Linked DNA regions of Homo sapiens: region 2 is linked to region 1. The links are contacts of gene promoters, found by promoter capture Hi-C in human tissues and cell types (Jung and others, 2019). All regions are on one chromosome and are shown on one strand. The core of a region is centred on a gene start or on the middle of the fragment in contact, and the rest is flanking DNA. Distances in the headings are between cores, read along the strand shown.

What was found. The method cuts DNA at HindIII sites, captures the fragments that hold promoters and counts their contacts. A contact is called where the count stands out against the background at its distance.
Region 2: a fragment that was not itself captured here is called in contact with the fragment with the promoter of SSC5D in region 1 in 3 of the 25 tissues and cell types used here (dorsolateral prefrontal cortex, mesenchymal stem cells and spleen).

Annotation. Positions count from the first base shown.
Region 1 is chr19:55,487,048-55,491,702 of GRCh38, forward strand. It overlaps SSC5D (scavenger receptor cysteine rich family member with 5 domains), which reads left to right and starts at 1,389. Exons shown (of 14, transcript NM_001144950.2): 1 at 1,389-1,567; 2 at 1,959-1,985; 3 at 2,307-2,615; 4 at 2,835-2,948; 5 at 3,251-3,361; 6 at 3,725-4,033. The coding sequence starts at 1,543. NAT14 (N-acetyltransferase 14 (putative)) reads left to right here. Exons shown (of 3, transcript NM_020378.4): 3 at 1-519. The HindIII fragment of the contact is 17,473 bases long and covers 703-4,655 here.
Region 2 is chr19:55,315,080-55,319,734 of GRCh38, forward strand. It overlaps TMEM150B (transmembrane protein 150B), which reads right to left. Exons shown (of 8, transcript NM_001282011.2): 7 at 1,707-1,887. Among named protein-coding and RNA genes, the nearest start is that of TMEM150B, 7.9 kb to the right of the region's middle. The HindIII fragment of the contact is 7,983 bases long and covers 1-4,655 here.

The DNA.
Region 1 (4,655 bases), core at 139-2,638:
CCTCAGTGAGTCCTCAACCACCCTGGGCCCAGAAACAGAGGCCTGCCGAGGGGAGGAGCCTGGCCTCTGTCCACCCGTCAGCAGTGTGAAGTCTGTTGTGTTTGAGCTTCTCAGAGTGGAATGACTCCTTTTCCTTCCTGGCCCTCGGGGGCCTCTCGAGGTCAGCCTCTCCAACCCCTACCTCAGCTCCTGTCTGCACTGAGAAACCTCCCCGGGTGATGTCTGCAAAGTCTGTGCTGTCCGTGCCCCAGGCTGGGAGAGCTATCTGGGGAGGGGGAGAGGAGGCCGAGCAGAATACACCCCAGAGTTAGGGTTTGCGACTCCGCCTCCCTGGGACCTGGATTGGGTCAGATGCCTGTCCTTGGAGGGGACAAGGTTGACTGCTTAGGAGGCGCGACGCACAGGGCTGCCAGGCCTGGCCCCTCTCTGGGAAGGTTGAGAGCTGAGACGGGCAGCCCTGTCCCTTCCTCCAGATCCGTCTGGTTTTTTACACCGTTTGTTAATAAAGCCTGAAACCGCTGTGTGCCTGTCTCTTCTCTGATGGCTTTCCCAGTCTGTCTCCGGACACCCCCGCCCATTTCTGTCTGGCTTCTCCTTTCCCCAGTTAACATTAATTGTTGGGGGACGGTGCTGGACTGGGAGAAGGGGAGGCTGTGAGCTCAGGGGCAGCCCGAGGCCCTGCCAGCCCTTCTGAGTCACGCTCCCCATTACCGAATTTTTTCCGCCTCACAGCTGCCTGGTGTGCAGGCAGTGGGGTGTGTGTGTGTGTGTGTGAGTGTGTGGAAGAGTGTGTGGAGCCCCTCCCCTTCCCAAGCCTTGACCCTTGTGCTGCTTATCCCCCGACCCCAGCTCCCTCTGGGACAGTGAAGTTCAACCTCTCCTCTCTCAGCTGGGGACTGGGGGCTTCACACTCAGATCCACCAGTGAGTGGGAGGACTGGAGGGCCGGGTCTTTCAGTCTCTTTTCCTAACCCAGGAAGTCCCTCCTGGTGTCTGGCTGCAAATCTTCTTGCTGCTGCACCAAGAACCCCAGGTCTGCCCAGCCCCCAACCCTAGCAGTGGTCTCACTGGATTTCCCTGACCAGACAAGAGGGGAGACAGCAGGTGGGCGCCCCTCCCGCTCATGCTGCGCCCCCCCCGCACACGTCCCCCAACCCCTGTCCTGTGCCTTCCTGCAGCCGGCCACCCCCTAAGCATCTCTGGGCACAGCACTTTGCTGGCTGGAGCCTGCCTGGCCGTCGTCTCCATCTCCCGTGTGGGTGTCTGCAGTTGGACACCCTCCCTCCCGCCCGCCACCCCCCTCCCCCCCATGCCTCAGCAGACGGCCAGCCCCCTCCCGCCCCCCCTCCCCCCCACCGTCCCCTGCCGCCTCCCTGCAGCCTCTTTCTTCCTCCTGGCAAAGCGTCCAGCCCTGCCTGCTCCTCCTCGGGCCTGGGCGCCTCCAGCAGGCACTTCCCTCCCTCCCTCTCTCCCCAGCTGCCTCCTCCTCTTCTCTCCCCGCTCTCCTTCCCCTTTCACCCCATCCCCTGCCCTGGCTGCAACCATGAGGGTCTTGGCCTGCCTCCTTGGTGAGTGATCCATTCTCCTTGGGGACTCGGGGGGCCTAGGCCCCCACCTCTGACCCCTTAGCTTGTCCAGTTTAGGGACTCAAACTTCCGGGACTGGTCGCTGGTGCTCCTGCATACCCTGACATCCCTTCTGAGGATCCCTGCTCAATCTGCCCAGCCTTCTGCCAGCCCAGAAGCCCAAGGGACCTGCCCCCTGCCCGCCCCCCAGCCCTGACCCTGCGGGGGATCTCCCAGACATCTGACCTTTAGCCAAGCCCATGTGTGTGTGTGTGTGTGTGTGTGTGTGTGTGTGTGTGTGTGTTGGGGTATTCAAGATGAGGGGCCTGCGCTGGAGAAAGGGCCACCCCCGGCCTGCCCCTCACACTGCCCCACCCTCCGCCCTCCCTTCCAGCGGCCCTGGTGGGGATCCAGGCTGTTGGTAAGTGCCCAGACTCCTCCCATCTGCCCGCCCCCCCCCCCAGGCCTCCCCCTTCTGCCCATCCAGGCCTGGCCTCACCCCCACTGGGTCCCCGGCCCATCCGAATTCCACTGTGACCTTGGCCCCAGCTCCGCAAGGGAATCCCCCAGGTGTCTGGCCGCATCTCTCTGAGCACCCAGGAGTCTGGGCCCAGGGGCCAGTGAGCAGGGCCACTGGCCTACAGACAGTACCTGCAGGACAGCCACCTGCCCCTACAGTTGCCCTGGCCTTGGGGCCCCCAGGATGCCCCTCCCCAGTCACAGCCATTCCTCCAACCCTCAGAGCGCCTGCGCCTGGCCGATGGCCCCCATGGGTGCGCTGGCCGCCTGGAGGTCTGGCATGGCGGGCGCTGGGGCACCGTGTGTGATGACGGCTGGGACCTGCGCGATGCCGCCGTGGCCTGCCGGCAGCTGGGCTGCGGAGGGGCACTGGCCGCCCCGGGAGGCGCCTTCTTCGGGGAGGGGGCAGGGCCTGTGTGGCTCAGCGAGCTGGCTTGCCGGGGCAACGAGGGGCAGCTGGGCCTCTGCCACCACCGGGGCTGGAAGGCCCACATCTGCTCCCACGAGGAGGACGCGGGCGTCGTCTGCGCAGGTGAGGACACCCTGGCTGCTCCTTCAGGGGGAGCTCCTTTGGAGATGACCCAGGAACCCCAAGTCCTTAGCCCCAGCAAGTCTGAGTGTTCAGCAGTTCAGAGACACCCAACCTCCCATCCCCTCCAAAGCCAGGTGGCTAACTCCCTCTTCCAGGGACCCAAATGGCCTGGATTCCCCTCCTCTCCTCATAGCTTCTGTCCCTGCCCCCCCGCCGCAGGTCAGCGTGTGGCTAACTCCAGGGACGACTCAACATCTCCCCTGGATGGGGCTCCCTGGCCAGGGCTGTTGCTGGAGCTGAGCCCCAGCACGGAGGAGCCCCTGGTGACACATGGTGAGCCCAGGGGACTGCCCTGCCAACCCCCACCCAGCGTGCCCTCCTGCCCCCCCCGAGGGGAGAGGGACTGCCCTGCCAACCCCCACCCAGCGTGCCCTCCTGCCCCCACCGAGGGGAGAGGGACCTCTGCAGTATGAACTCCCAGGGGACACACAGCCCGCCCCCTGCCCCGCCCCGTCTCCTTCATAGCCTAGGGAGTCCTCCATCACTTCAGACCCTCAGAGACGGAGGCCTGGGCCCCCAGGTGGGAGGAAGGATGAGGGGCTCAGCTCCTGACCCCTGGCTGTCTCCACTCCCAGCCCCCCGCCCAGCTGGGAACCCCCAGAACGCCTCCCGGAAGAAGAGCCCCCGGCCCAAGCAGGCCAAGTCCACCCGGGCCCCTCTGCTGACGACAGGAGCCCCCCGCCAAGGTAAGCTCCCTGCAGGCTCCCCCGACCCCAAGGCTGGTTGCTGTGAGGCCCAGGGCCCAGAAAAACTGAGGACCTGCGGGCGCCCTCTCCTTAGCCGGGGCCCTGGAGGGATCCCAGTGTTCCCCGCGTCCCTCCCCCGGGGATTTAGACGGCCAGGCCTGGTCTCCCCTCTTCTTCCTGCCCTGTCAGGAGGCCCAGGTGTCCTGGCCCGCTCAGGTCGTGGACTCACCTCTTCACGGGCTGCCGGCGGACAGATCTCAGGCCACCGCTCCCTCAGGCCTGTTTCCCCAGGTGGAAATCGAGGAAGGGGTGTTTGAATCATTTCTCACTGGCCACACCGTCCCCTCCCTGCTCACCCCACAGAGCGGCTGCGCCTGGTCTCTGGCCCCCACAGGTGCGCCGGACGCCTGGAGGTCTGGCACGGCGGGCGCTGGGGCACCGTATGTGACGATGGCTGGGACCTGCGCGACGCTGCTGTAGCCTGCCGGGAACTGGGCTGTGGGGGGGCGCTGGCTGCCCCCGGCGGTGCCAGATTCGGGCCTGGTGCAGGGCCCGTGTGGATGGACGATGTGGGGTGTGGAGGAGGAGAACAGGCCCTCCGAGACTGCCCCCGAAGCCCCTGGGGCCGGAGCAACTGTGACCACAGCGAGGATGCGGGGCTGGTCTGCACCGGTACGTCGGGCTGGGGCCTGGCCCCCTCCTGTCTTCCTCAGACCCCAGCTCCCTCTTGCCCCTCCAGGAAGCTGCAGCGGGCCTGCTCCCAGCTCTGCCTCCTGCCCGCCTGCTCTCTGCATGCCCAGCGCCCACTCACCACGCTCTCCAGCCCCTCCTTCCACAGCTCCTGCCGTTCTCCTTGCCAGGAATGGGAGGAGCAGGCTTGAGGCTTGGGCTAGTGCTCAGCCCTGTCCCGGGGCCTAGGCCAGTGACCGTTTGTTTAAGCCTCAGTTTTCCTGAAGGAGCGATGGAGCTAAGAATGCCTGCCTCAGGCTTGAGCCAAGTCCTGGAACGCAAGAAGCCCTGCCTGCCCTCTGCCACCGGGCTGGCCATGGCAGGGGACCGTCTCGGAGACCTCTTGTCTCTGTGGCCAACCTCTGCTCCTTCCCCATCCTCAAGGGAGCTGGTGGGAAGGAGGGAGGGAGGGCGGTGACTTGGGGGCATGGAGGGAGACTGAGGCAGGGTGGGGACACCCACGGGTGAGCCTCCATCTCCCCTCATTCACGCCCCCTCAGCGCGGGGTCTCCTCCCCTCATGTCTCCCAGGGGGTCCCTCCCCTCTCCTGTACCCCTTGGACCTG
Region 2 (4,655 bases), core at 1,933-4,432, 170 kb before region 1:
CCGAGGCGGGCAGATCACCTGAGGTCAGGAGTTCGAGACCAGCCTGCCCAGCATGGTGAAACCCCATCTCTACTAAAAACACAAAAATTAGCCAGGTGTGGTGGTGCATGCCTGTAGTCCCAGCTACTTGGGAGGCTGAGGCACAAGAATTGCTTGAAACTGGGAGGTGGGGGTTGCAGTGAGCCAAGATCATGCCACTGCACTCCACCCTGGGTGACAGAGTGAGACTCCATCTCAAAAAATAATAATAACAAGATAATAATAATAATAGGCCGGGCATGGTGGCTCATGCCTGCAATCCCAGAACTTTGGGAGGCCAAGGCAGGTGGATCATGAGGTCAGGAGTTCGAGACCAGCCTGGCCAATATGATGAAACCCCGTCTCTACTAAAAATACAAAAGGCCAGGCACGGTGGCTCACACCTGTAATCCCAGCACTTTGGGAGGCCAAAGTGGGCGCATCACAAGGTCAAGAGATCAAGACCATCCTGGCTAACATGGTGAAACCCTGTCCCTACTAAAAATACAAAAAATTAGTTGGGCATGGTGGCTGGCGCCTGTAGTCCCAGCTACTCAGGAGGCTGAGGCAGGAGAATGGCATGAACCTGGGAGGCGGAGCTTACAGTGAGCCAAGATCACGCCACTTCACTCCAGCCTAGGTGACAGAGCGAGACTCCGTCTCAAAAAAAAAAAAAAAAAAATTAGCCAGGTGTGGTTGGCAGGTGCCTGTAGTCCCAGCTACGTGGAAGGCTGAGGCAGGAGAATCGCTTGAACCCGGGAGGCGGAGGTTGCAGTGAGCTGAGATCACGCCACTGCACTCCAGCCTGGGCGACAGAGCAAGACTCTGTCTCAAAAATAAATAAATAAAAATAATCATGATGATAAAAGCAAATCCATTTTATGGATATGGAAACTGAGGCCTCAGAGAGTGACCTGACCCATCTAGAAGTACACTGTGCTGGTGGAAAGTGCCTCGGTTCTGGGGATGGCTCAGAAATGAGTTGGAATTGAGTCAAGCCTCATGTGGTGTGCTAGTAAATGTTTAACAACTGGCTCTGGTTGGTGGCATCTGCCAATTACAGTGGTATAAATACTCCCATGATGGCTATTTCAAGCTACTCACATGATATCACAGGACATGGAGTTCGGACGAGCAGTTCACAGAATGCCTCTCAGAGCCTGCGCAAGCCACCTGCAGCCTATCACCAGCTCCATTGCAGAACCTCACGCGCATCCTGGCCGAAAGACTTTTCCTGTCTGAACCCGTCTTCACTCGTAACCACATGATTCCTGGCACAGAGCAGGTGCCCTCAAGGGACTGTTCTTAGTATATCATTCTTCCAGCGTCTATTGGTCACTCGCTATGTGCCAGGCACAGATCTAAGCACCGTATGCCTATTATCCTATCCACTCCACAACCCTGAGGTCAGCCCTGTCGTTATCCACATTTGAGGGATGACGAAACCATTGACACCGAGAAGTAACAGCCCGCGGAAGTTTCCCCCAGCTGCTGTGTGGAGGACAGGGGCTTCCAACCTGGGCAACCTGACCCCGAAGTCGGCATTCTCGATGACAAAGCCATAATCCTGTGCAAAGAGTGAGGCCCAGAGAAAGGAAGAGACATCCCCAGTGACAGACAGCCAGGCAGGAAGACCAACTCCAGTGAAGAGCCACCTCCAAGCCCTACCCCGGATACAAGAAGGATACTGGCCACAATGAGGATGGTGCAGACGCTGCAGAGGCCCAGGCGGAGGGGCCCAATCCAGGCAGCCCCGGGCTGGGGCAGCCTCTTCAGCCTCCACAGGAGGAGCTGCAGCCAGAAGTAGACGTTACCCAAGATGAAGGCAAGGAAGGCCCCTGCCAAGTGCGTAGGCCGCTGGTTCTTTTCCTGGGAGGAGAAGGGAGAAGTTGGGAGGGAGACTCTGGGAAGGAGGGTAAGGGGCACCAGAGGGGCCAGGGCCCTTCACCAATGCAGTAGACAGTGGTCACCAACTTTCCATACCCAGTGATGGGCTTATTAAGCACATCAGCTATTGTCAGCTCCACGAGAGCAGGCATTGAAATCTGTTGTTCACTGCTGTGGCCTCAATTCCTAGAACAGTGATGGGCACATAGTAGATGCTCAGTAAATATGAGTGGGATAAATCTTGCATTCTCAAGGCGGGGGACAGACATTTCCCCAAAAATTGGTCTTGCAGGTGAAAAATTCTTAAATATTACAATTGTATGTGACTCACGGATACATAGCACATATTCCATTAAAATTTTAAAATACTTAAAATTTTGGCCTGGTGCGGTGGCTCACATCTGTAATCCCAGCTCTTTGGAAGGTGAAGCAGGCAGATCACTTTGAGCTCAGGAGTTCAAGACCCACCTGAGCAACATGGCAAAACCTCGTCTCTACAAAAAATACAAATATTGCCAGGCATAGTGGCTCACACCTGTAATCTCAGCACTTTGGGAGGCCAAGGCGGGTAGATCACTTGAGGTCAGGAGTTCGAGACCAGCCTGGCCAACATGGTGAAACCCTGTCTCTACTAAAAATACAAAAAATTAGCTAGGCGTGGTGGCGGGCACCTGTAATCCCAGCTACTTGGGAGGCTGAGGCAGGAGAATCACTTGAACCCAGGAGGCAGAGGTTGCAGTGAGCCAAGATCGCACCATTGCACTCCAGCCTGGGCAACAAGAGTGAGACTCCATCTCAAGAAAAAAAAAAATACAAATATTAGCCGGTCATGGTGGCTCAGGCCTGTAATCCCAGCTACTCAGGAGGCTGAGGCTGGAGGATTACTTAAGCCCAGGAAGCAGAGGTTGTAGTGAGCTGAGATGGCACCATCGCACACCAGCCTGGGCAACGGAGCAAGATCCCATCTCAAAAATAAATAAACAAATAATAAATAAATAAAATAAATACTTAAAATTTCATGGGAAGAGGGGAGAACCAGGGGGAAATGTCTAAAAATACTCCTTAGAGGAGCAAGATAATAATAATAGGTTGAGGGCTGGGCACAGTGGCTCATGCCTGTAATCCCAACACTTAGGGAGGCCAAGGTAGGCAGATCACTTGAGGTCAGGAGTTTGAGACCAGCGTGGCCAACATGGTGAAACCTTATCTCTACTAAAAATGCAAAAAGTAGCCGGGCGTGGTGGTGAGCGCCTGTAATCCCAGCTACTCTGGAAGCTGAAGTTAGGAGAATCACTTGAGCCCGGGAGATGGAGGTTGCAGTAAGCCAAGATCTCACCACTGCACTCCAGCCTGGGCCACAGAGCAAGACTCTGTCTCAAATAAATAAATAGTTGTGGAGCACTTTGGGAGGCTGAGGTGGGTGGCTCATTTGAGGTCAGGAGTTCAAGACCAGCCTGGCCAATATGGTGAAATCCCATCTCTACTAAAAATACAAAAAAAATTTAGCCAGGCCTGGTGGCAGGTGCCTGTAGTCTCAGCTATTTGGTAGGTTGAGGCAGGAGAATCGCTTGAACCCAGCAGGCGGAGGTTGCGGTGAGCCAAGATCGCACTACTGCACTCCAGCCTGGGTGACAGAGCAAGACTCCATCTCCAATATATGTATATATATAAATATATTCTCTGTGGTCCATGGGCAATGAGTGACCTAGCTAGAGTCTTCATGGAGATGGAATGAAGTCATGTACAAAATGGAAAGCCTGCTGCCAATGGCTGCCAAATGCTCAATCAATGTGCCTAACATGAAGAATGAGTAAATCTCAGTCATTTCTTTTTGGAGACAAGGTCTCACTCTGTTCACCAGGCTGGAGTGCAGTGGCACAATCACAGCTCACTGCAGCCTCGACCTCCTGGGCTCAAGCAATCCTCCATCTTCCCACCTCAGCCTCCTGCATAGCTGGGACTACAGGTTCACGCCACCATGCCTGGCTAATTCTTTATTTTTTGTAGAGACAGAGTCTTGCTATGTTGTCCAGGCTGGTCTTGAACTCCTGGGCTCAAGCCTCAGCCTCCAAAGTCCTGGGATTACAGGCATGAACCACTGTGCCCAGCCTCACTAATTTCTTTTTTCTTTTCTTTTCTTTTTTGAGACTGAGTCTCACTCTTGCAGCCCAGGCTGGAGTGCAATGGCATGGTCTCGGCTCAATGCAACCTCTGCCTCCCGGGTTCAAGCAATTCTCCTGCCTCAGTCTCCTGAGTAGCTGGGCTTACAGGCACCTGCCACCACCCCTAGCTAATTTTTTGTATTTTTAGTAGAGATGGGGTTTTACCGTGTTGGCCAGGCTGGTCTCCAACTCCTGACCTCAGGTGATCCACCTACCTTGGCTTCCCAAAGTGCTGGGATTACAGCCGTGAGCCACAGAGCCCGGCCAGTAATTTCATCTTCTTCTTCTTTTTTTTTTTTTTTTTTTTTTTTTTTTTTGAGAGAAGTCTCACTCTTATCCCCCAGGTTTGAGTGCAATGGCTCGATCTCGGCTCACTGCAACCTCCACCTCCCAGGTTCAAATGATTCTCCTGCCTCTGCCTCCCACGTAGCTGGGATTAAGTCGCCTGCCACCATGCCCGGCTAATTTTTGTATATTTTAGGAGAGACGGGGTTTCACCATGTTGGTTGGCCAGGCTGGTCTCAAACTCCTCACCTCAGGCGATCCGCCTGCCTCCGCCTCCCAAAGTGCTGGAATTACAGGCATGAG